Linked DNA regions of Homo sapiens: region 2 is linked to region 1. The links are contacts of gene promoters, found by promoter capture Hi-C in blood cells and fetal thymus (Javierre and others, 2016). All regions are on one chromosome and are shown on one strand. Each heading gives the region's core, a stretch centred on a gene start or on the middle of the fragment in contact. The rest is flanking DNA. Distances are from core to core; before and after follow the strand shown.

Region 1 (4,968 bases), core at 1,149-3,648:
AATCTTTAAAAGTAATACCCCATAATCCAAAAGTTAGGAATTCCTGAGTTTAGCTCTCACAAAAAATAATGTACCATCTTTGCAAAGCATACTGCGAAAGGAGGTCTTTTCAAATGTCTTGTCTCAAATGGGAAACAAACCTGGGACCATATTGAATCCTGCAGTTTTTTTTAATGAGGGCAAGAGTAGGGAAATCTTGCAGATAAGTCTCCTAGCTCAGACCTGGCCAAGTGCTCAGTAATGGGCAGGAGGGCAGGCAGATATCAGAGAAAGCTGCCTGTGTTCCTAACTGCAGGAGGATGGAGAAGAATCTCTGCAATTCCTCAAAAACTTTCTAAAATGTAAGGTGGACAGGTCATTTTTAAATATTGTTGCTGTTCAAGAATTGAGCCATAATGGTCCCTGGCCTCTTTTTTTATAACTAATCATACTTTTAAAAGACTATTTTTTCCAAATTTGTATTGCAATTAATGTGTGCCTGAACTATAAGACATTTTCTATCCTCCTAATTATGAAAGCAGCCTGTGTCAACCAATGGTTTATGCAGAGATTTAAGATTCCAACACACAGTTGCAAAGATCTGAAGGAAATATACAAACTGTTACACACACAAAGCAACATACACAAAACAGCAAGCACAAATATCAGTCACTGCCAACAGTTCACTATCCTAAGCAAAACATAGTTTGCACTTCTATAGAAGCTACTGGCTTCTAGAAAGAGCAAGAGTACCAGCAGTCATATTTAGCGTCTATGGTGTATTAACATATAAAGAAAACAGCAGTCATTAAAGACAACCCAGCTTTTAAAATACATATAAGTCCTTGTCCAGCAGTTAGCCAATCAGAAAGCAGGTCACATCTTGTTAGCTGTATTAAATACACGAAACGTCATGAATTCTCTATGGCTCTGTTGACAATTCAAGCCAACTGTGTTTTATCCCATAGCACAAACTTAATGGAGTCCCTTCCTAGAGTTAAAAGTCAATCTTCAATCTAAAATTCCACCAGAGCTATTCCCTAAAAGCTCTTTGGCATAAATCTTGTGGTATTTATACTCTGCAGAGAAGACTAAATTCCTAGCAATTTCCACTTCCTAAAGTGACTTTGGTGCACCTATAACAAACTCCTTTTCCGAACACTTCCACACAAAGCCCCAACTTACAGGCAGATGGACAATCCAGCAGCAAGACCTGCCAGCTGAGCTAGCACAGAGAAAAAGTCAACTGACATAAAATATTTAAATTGCAGGAGGCGAGTCTGGAGTTTTGCATTTAAAAAGTTCTGAAAGTCCTGTTCTCTCTGCTCCCAGAGTTGCTGGCTGCCTAGGAGGCTGAGTCTCCCTCTCTCAGGCACAAGATCTCAAATATGCAAAAACTAGAGCTGACTTGAAAGCTGAACCAGCTCCTGTCCTAAGGTAGAGTGATAGGGGGGCACGGCCGACAGCAATAGGAGAAAGTCTAGAGTCCCCTTGCCCCAAGCAACTGGTTTCTGATTTTAACACTGAAATATACAAACATGTGTCCCTCCAGGGCTAGTTCTGAGAAGTAGGCAGGTTTACTCTTCTGCCCCTTTTTACCTCGATTTTGGTGACTCTGAAAAGTAAATACAGGTCAAAGCAGACTTCCTCTAGGATTTGTAAAAAAGAAAATATATATATATATATATATATATATATATATATATATATATACACATATGTATATATATATATATATATATATATATACACATATGTATATATATATATAGCCAGATGCAAACAATCACAAAATTCCTTGGAATTATATCTCAAGAAACACCAACAGGACTGACTCAGAGCCTGTAAAACACCAGAGTTCTGGAAGAGCAACATTTCTGGAAACCCGGCATGTGAATCAAGTGCTGGGTTGTCTCAAGATTCCGGCAGAAACTGTCCTCTGCTACAAGAGTTGCTGTGCCTGGAAACCCAGCGTCCAAACTCGTGGATTCATCCTGGCGCTCATTTCCACGTACGTGGTAGTATCAAGTGGGACACTTCCCATAGAATTCAGCCAGAAACCCTAGGAAAAGCTCATGCATAGCTTAACAAAAATACACAAACACATCCCCAAGGTTGAAGTACTTACCTCTGTGCGAGACTGCAGTCTCTTGTTCATCTCATAGATTCGGTACTCTGGCTGTACCATGTATGGTGTATGCCTCCTATAAAATGGGCCGAAAGGAGAAGAATAGAAGGGGTCATGTGGTGTGCTGGACATCTTGCCTGCTTTTCGAAAATCAAGCTAAACAGAGTATCAGTAACGTCCATGCAGAGCACATGGGCTGTGTTCTTCCCAGTACAAAGTAGACGCACGCACACACGCTCACACACACACAGAGGCAGGCAGGCAGGCAGGCTGAACACGCTGGCTGGGAACTGCTGTCGGAGCCCTCTATAGCAGGAGAGGAGAGGGAGAGGAGAGGAGGGAGGGAAAGAGGGAGGGAGGGAGGGAGCACGGGAGAGGAGGGAGAGGGAGAGAGCAGGAGCTCCAGAGAGGGAGGGAGGTTGGTATGGAGGAAGGGAGGGAAGAAGGGAGGGAGGGAGGGAGGGAGGAGGGAGGGAGGGAGGGGGAGAGAGAGAGAGAGAGAGAGAGAGAGAGAGAGAGAGAGAGAGAGAGAGAGAGAGAGAGAGAGAGGAGCTGGATAGCTTTAGGCACCACTGCTTGTTTTTAAAGAAGCAGTTTGTGGAGAGGTCATTTCCTGTCCACATTGTAGACTAGTTCACAAATATAATTCTCCTCACAGTCTGACAAGAGGTCTAAGGTTTGGTTTTAATTTTTTTCCTCCAGCCAGGACCCTTCACAACCTGATTGCTAAGCTTGTTAGCATAGAGGTGGTCTAACCGCTACATGAGCCGCTCACCCCTGACAACCACACTGTTGTAATGTATCAGAAATGTTGATTACTACAAAATACAGAAACACGGGCACTGTGGTGCCCCGAATTGGGACCGGTGATTCACTCACATGCAGAGATTTATTTCAGCACTAATCTCCCTATGTAGTTTTGCTTTACTTGCTGTTGTTCCAAGGGCTGTTATATTCTTTGCCCTCCACTCCATCTCACTCCCATCTCTCCCCACTCACCCCTCTTCCCAGCCACCTCCCTCTTCTCCAAAGACTTCATTCAGGCCCTTAAGGTGCCTGGGCATTTTCAGGTAAAAACAGTCGTTCTGAATGTGGAAGGTATAAAATACACTTAAGGAGAGCAATGGTCTTTTTTCCCAGGAAGGAAAAACAAACAAACAAACAAACAAAAAACCCAAACAGACCTCCCAATAAGACAGGAAAAGCAAAGAAGGAGAAAACTGCCACAAAAATGACCACGGAAAATTTGGTTGAGAAGGAAATTGCAAATAATTGAATGGATCATCCCCAGATAACATGTCCAACTCTTATGGAGACAAAGTCTGTATTTTCCAAGATTGGTCAAGTAAACAAATATTTTCCCAACTGTGGTATATGATAACCATAAGAAATCCCAACAGCCCATGGAAGGGGAAAATCTCTATAGAGAATTAAACAATCTATAAAATAATCAAATTCTGCTAGAACCCACTATAACCAGAGATACGACACTTAAACAAAGCCCAGCCACACAAAATTTAAATGTATTGAGCTAACACCTAGGTAGGTCAGTGGTATTAAGGAAATAAAGCAAAGGACCACCAAAAAGCATAATGAATTCAAGACCTGAATGCAAATGCATGCAAATGAGACATTTCTTCTTTTTAATAAGCAGATTAATTAACTTTCTGCCCCAATCATGGCTTGGGTATCTCCAAGTCACTAGCCAACAGGGGATAGAGTATTGCTAATTCTGCAATTTACACTCTTAAAAATACTCAGACACAGAAAAGTGTATTGCTGTCTTGATCAGTCCTTCTTCATAATTGCATGAAATATTTGCTGAGTCCACCCCAAACTTCCAGCAGCGCAGCCTAACACACTAATGTCGCTTCCCAGGATGAGATTAGGGTAGGTATTACACTAAGGCTGCTTGGAACTTGCGCTAGGAGACCCCAAGGCAGGCGAGAATGCTTGGTTTCAGGTTTCATTACAAATCCGAAAGCTGGACCAAATTTGCTGCAAGGTTTGTCAAAACACACAACCTTCTAAAGACAGGATTTCAAACAATTTTGGCATGATTTACGTTTTGGTATGGCAGCCACTGCAAAACCTAATGGTTCCTTATGTTTAAACTCTCAAACTAAAGACATTCTGAAAGTTTAGTGTCTGCCTGAGTTTGTGTTAATGTGACCATTTCAGTGCAAGAATGAAAGTAACACCTAGGCAGGCCTGTGCAGGCCAATAGTAACAAAAAAAAATGAAACAGTTCAAAAATCCATTTAGGAAGGGAATCCCTCTCTGAATAAGGTTCTGGTTTGCTCTCATTTGTTTCTGCAGACCATTGCCAATTATAATTGGAAATATTTCTTGCCATTAATAGTGAAAGACTCTCATTTCAGAACTATCTGAAACTTGATAATGCTGATCCATATCCCTGATTCTCATCCCCGTTATTTCAGGAGTCTCCGAACTGGTCCCCCTGCCCACAGATTCACAGTCCTCTTCTAACTTGTGGTCTGTCCTTATTCAAATGAGAATGTGGATTTCAGATAAGTGAAAGCGATCATGTCCCATGTTTTCCCCCTCAGTGTTTCCCTGCTGCCAGAAGGAAAACGTGCAAGTTCCTTAGGAACATGGCATACAGGGCTCGGTAAGACCCGCACTTCTGTGCTGTCTCTTTCTCCCTCTGTCACATACACACACACACTCACACACACTCATTCATTTACTCATTTGTGTGTTCATTCATTTATTTATTTGCTATACTTGATCTTCCTAAACTTGCAATCTTTCTTATGCATGGCCACATTTGTACTTCTGGCCCTAGTTTACCTACAAACTGCTACTTATCCTTCTATTAAATTAAATTGTCTCCTCCA
Region 2 (4,968 bases), core at 1,662-4,161, 130 kb before region 1:
GATACATTATGTTTTCTTCCTTAACTGTGATTTGTTTAAATTTAACATTGTGTTTGAAGACCTATCCAATTTATATATACACATATATATGTGTGCATTTATATATATACACATATATGTCTATATATAAATGTATGTATGTGTGTGTATATATATACACACACATATATGTGTGTGTGTGTGTGTGTGTGTGTGTGTGTGTGTGTATATATTTTTTTTTTTTTGAGACAGAATCTCGCTCTGTCACCGAGGCTGGAGTGCAATGGCGCAATCTTGGCTCACTGCAACCTCCACCTCCTGTGTTCAAGCGATTCTCCTGCCTCAGCCACGCGAGTAGCTGGGATTATAGGCGCCCACCACCACGCCCAGCTAATTTTTGTATTTTTAGTAGAGACAGGGTTTCACCATGTTGGTCAAGCTGGTCCTGAACTCCTGACTTCAGGTGATCCACCTGCCTCGGCCTCCCAAAGTGCTGGGATTACAGGCATGAGCGTGCTTGGCCCCAATTTATATATTGGGGTCTCTCTTTCCTTATATAAGCTACATACTAATGCACTGAATAGATATGCGGTAATACATTTTATTTAAACATTTTGCTACTAATAATCTCAGATAGTTCCTAATTTTTTGGTCATCCCAACAATGCTGCCATAAATGTCTCTGTAGTTTCCTTTTGTGTTTATATGTAAGAATTTCTCTCAGGCACATGCCTAAAGTGGATATGCCTAGACATAGGGTTTGTACCTGTCTATATTTTGGTCCTTTCATTAGGAGGTCCCTGTACTTTCATATTAAAAGCATCTGCATCTGGTCTGATTGATGCATGGGTAGAGATTCAAAGAGTACTGTTAAGCAGTATATTTCCAAGTGGGTTCTAGTAGCAAGAGCAGCTTAATGACAAAAACAGAGACTAGCTCTGCTGGGAGAAGGATGAATATCTAGAAGTCCAAAAAAGATGCAAAAATGGAGTAACACTACTAATAATACTCCAACTTTGCCGATCATTCTTTTAAAAGAGGAGTGTATATTAAGGCCTTCATTAACCAAAAGGAGGATTATTTCTTGACACAAGCATAGGAAAGAAAGCAAACGTAGGTTTTCCATGCCACTCCACAATGACTCATGGATCAGGAGGACTGAGTACCAAATGCCCGAACTCATGTGTAGATTGAGCTCTGTTGCACACTGCCACAGGGCTTCTGATCTGGGACACGTGTTTTCCCAACAGACAGCTACTTCCAATTCTTGCTGTTGTTTAGTATCTGAACTGTGTGTGGCGAGTGTTTAGTGAATATTAATAAGTAAAAAGTGAATTCTTTTCCCCAAAGCTAGAAAGTAACAATAGCATACAGCAGCCTCCAGGTAAATAAAGATGAAATTAACTCAGCCTGAACACAGACAGGGGAAGTGGTTGTTGACAATTCTTCCATATTTTAATTAGGAAAAAATATCATCAAAGCTTCTTTATTCTAAACAATCCCCTATATGCATTTGTGCTATTACAGTCCTTAGTCCTTTTGTCCCATCTCACAGGTGAACCCAAATTTCACCAGCAGCCTAATCATATATCAGGATGAGACACACAGTCATGTCAAATAGCAGAAGAGAGTCTTAATTATGTTTAAAAATCTACAGAAGCATTTTGCTTCCATCCTAGATTCTCTCCTGTTCCCAACCCTATCCCTCTTCACCAAAAACAGGATCCCGGTGCCAGGGCTGCCCCTCGGCATCTTTAACTTAAGCACTGACAGGTTACGTGGGATTTTTGCCAGAGTAATTATTTTTCAATTCAACAATAATGAGAAATTACCATGGCAACCACTTGTCATGTGGTACACATACACCCCCTCCAAAGAATGAACCATACTTAAAGCATCTATTCCTTGAAAATGTGTTTTTTTTTTATTAAAATAAACTTAAACAGGTCAAAGTGGAGAGCATTCTGAAGGGGTCTGAAAGATGGGAGATGGGAGGGCATTGACTTTCTTCAGTATCTTGTGGTTCTAGAAAAAAATGAGAATGTCTCATCTTATAACCCTACTCTCTTGTACACACACATTTAAATAACACTATTAATTTGTATCTTACTATTTTAGTCACTCCTGTTTTACATGCATCAGCTAACCTTTCTCAGAAGATACTGAAGAAAGGATAAATTTGCCTGAAATGACCGAGGCAGAAACACACTTGCTACACTTGCTCTGCCTACATTTCTTTTTCTGCCATATCCAGATATTAAGAAAGAAGACAAAAAAAAAATCCCAAATCTCATGCCTTCTGCCTTTCTGTTACCTAGAGTCCCTCTCACACTGTAGGAAGCTCAGGTCATTTGTTTTCCAAGACTGTAACTGTGTTTTTGATTCCTTAATCACAAGCCACCCTTTCTCCAAAACCAAGGGTCTATCTCGAACCATGTTTATTTTGAATCAGCCTCCCTTAATAATAATAGTCAACAGTTACAAGGCACTTATTGTATGCCAGTCACCCTTCTGAACTCATTGCACATTATAAACCCCTTAAAACCTCACCATGACCCTATAATATAAGTAGCATTATTAACCCCATCTTATAGATGAGAAAACTGAGGCACTGAGGAGTTAGATATTTGCTTAACATGACACAGCTATCAAATTGCCACGAAAGAGTTCAACCCCAAGGACTCTGGCTACTGGCTAGCAAGTTTAGACTCATGACTGCTCCATTATGATGTTCCTTTATTCAAAACAATATCTCTAAAATATCTGTCTTCTTAGTTGTTTCAACATCCAGTCAAGGCCAAGTGCACTGAACGTTTGGGTCTCTCTCTGGAACAGGCAGCCCAAAGCAAGGATTTCCATCACACCTATGGAATTCGGCTTGAAGACACACAAATAAAAGTAATAAGGTAAGACCATTTGCCCTTGCCAGCTGGTAGCTGCACAAGCATGAAAAGGATGCAGAGAGGGAATTTTAAATCTCCCCTTTTTTACTTATTTTTATGGGATTCTTTTTATTTTTTATTTTTATTTTTTTTTGAGATGGAGTTTCCCTCTTGTTGCCCAGGCTGGAGTGCAGTAGCACAGTCTCGGCTCACTGCAACCTCCGCCCCTTGGGTTCAAGCGATTCTCCTGCCTCAGGCTCCCGAGTAGCTGGGATTACAGGAGCCCACCACCATGCCCAGCTAATTTTTGTATTTTTAGTAGAAACGGGTTTCACCATGTTGACTAGGCTTCTCTCGAACTCCTGACCTCAGGTGATCCACCCGCCTCAGCCTCCCAAAGTGCTGGGATTACAGGTGTGAGCCACTGTGCCCAGCCCTATGGGATTTTTTTTTTTTTTTTCTTAAACAACTCATGTTCTAGAGACTGAATTTTTCTTCTCTAATTCTCAACTGTGATTTGCTCATTCTCAGCTAAATTGCATTTTATTTAACTGTAAGCATTAGTTATTATTTTAACTGAATTATAAAACGGCATACTACCAACATAGCAAATTGTGTGTTTTGAGAGAGCATCTCGGTGTTTCACTCACAAATCAAGCCCTCCCTTTTAGAAGGTGCTCACTATAGTTCCCTGTCTAGTGCCTGTGGATGCTGCCTTGAGAAAGTCGCATATTAAAATGTGCAGAAAGACAAGACTTGGTATCCAGTAGACACAGCTCTTCAGTAGAAGTTACATCAGTGGTTTTCCCCCCAAAGACCTGAGAAATTCATGTATTTGAATCTCCAGCTTTGATCCACAAAATCAGTAATTAATTCTGAGCAGTCCAAACAGAAATGTTAGTTAGAATAACTAAAAGCAATGACTCAAATGCCTCAGTGTGTATGTGCCAACAATTGAGCTTTTTTTGCTACCAGACTTATTACAAGTGTGATGAAATAATTTTTTTTTGAAGTTGGGATTCCTGTCAGCTTTTTGAGGGCAACATCTTACCCATGTCTGGTGTGTTTTACATGCACAGTATCTAACACATGGCAGGAAGACAACAAATAATTGCTCCATTATTTAATTATTTAAATCACTTAATTCAACAAATAAATATTTATTTAACTAAAACCCAGCATATTCTCAAAACCCAGAAGAAAACCAGCACTTTTAATTTTATGATAATTGAACACTGCCACTCTCTGCTCTATTTACATGTTTGTGAAACAGGGGCTTTGATTCTTTGATGACTGAATCAGTGAAAATGCACAGAGTTTCAAAATGTAGTATTTTCTAGTCCTCACAGGCTCTCTATCAAGTTGGTAATTTTCTTATCCCAATGTCAGTGGGGAAACTGAGGCCCCAAGCGGTTAAGAAATGTACCCAAGGTTACAAATCAAATAAGCGGCAACATTGGAATTTGCATCCTCTCTGACTCATAAATTTTTATTTCCATCCACAAAGCTTTACTCGCTGCCTGTTGCAATCTCTACTCTATACTATTCTAGTATGAAAGAGGATTGGTTGTTTTTTAATAACTAAATTTCCTATTTTATACTCAAACATGGAGACATGTACTCTCACAATCAAAAAGAATATACTGGGAACCCTATGCAAAGCCACTTTGAAAATGACGTGGAAAGGCATTACTCTAGAAGCACAGGTTTTGTTCATGACAGCTCTGTGGCAGTGAGCACCGCGCATCGTATTACATCACACCATCTAGGTGTGAGAGGTCCCGAGATGCAGGATAATGTCATGAGGCAGCAAGTCGTATATCTTGAGAAAAGTTCACTGTAAAATCAGGCACAAATTTTCCATTCCAACATAAACACAGCAGACAAGGGAATGTTTCTGGAAAAGCTTGCAAGATTCAAAATCTTGTTTCTGTGACCCACCCTATTGCATTTGAATAGTTGATCAAATGACAAGAATAATTCTTCAAGTCACCACTAAACATTGGAGGACTGTGCCAGGACCAAGGCCACAGGAAACCACTAGATAAGAAAACTCAAGATTTTCTCTCTTCCTACTTGGAAAAAATGAAAAAAAAATTTTTGTTCAC

What was found. Contacts are between HindIII fragments. The CHiCAGO score rates a contact against its expected background, and 5 or more counts as called.
Region 2: a fragment that was not itself captured here is called in contact with the fragment with the promoter of LDB2 in region 1 in 1 of 17 cell types (endothelial precursors); the score reaches 5.2 in endothelial precursors.

What each region holds. Positions count from the first base shown.
Region 1 is chr4:16,896,247-16,901,214 of GRCh38, forward strand. It overlaps LDB2 (LIM domain binding 2), which reads right to left and starts at 2,399. Exons shown (of 8, transcript NM_001290.5): 1 at 2,108-2,399. The coding sequence starts at 2,239. The HindIII fragment of the contact is 2,891 bases long and covers 1-2,836 here.
Region 2 is chr4:16,766,300-16,771,267 of GRCh38, forward strand. All of the region lies in intron 1 of LDB2 (LIM domain binding 2), which reads right to left. Among named protein-coding and RNA genes, the nearest start is that of LDB2, 130 kb to the right of the region's middle. The HindIII fragment of the contact is 2,908 bases long and covers 1,458-4,365 here.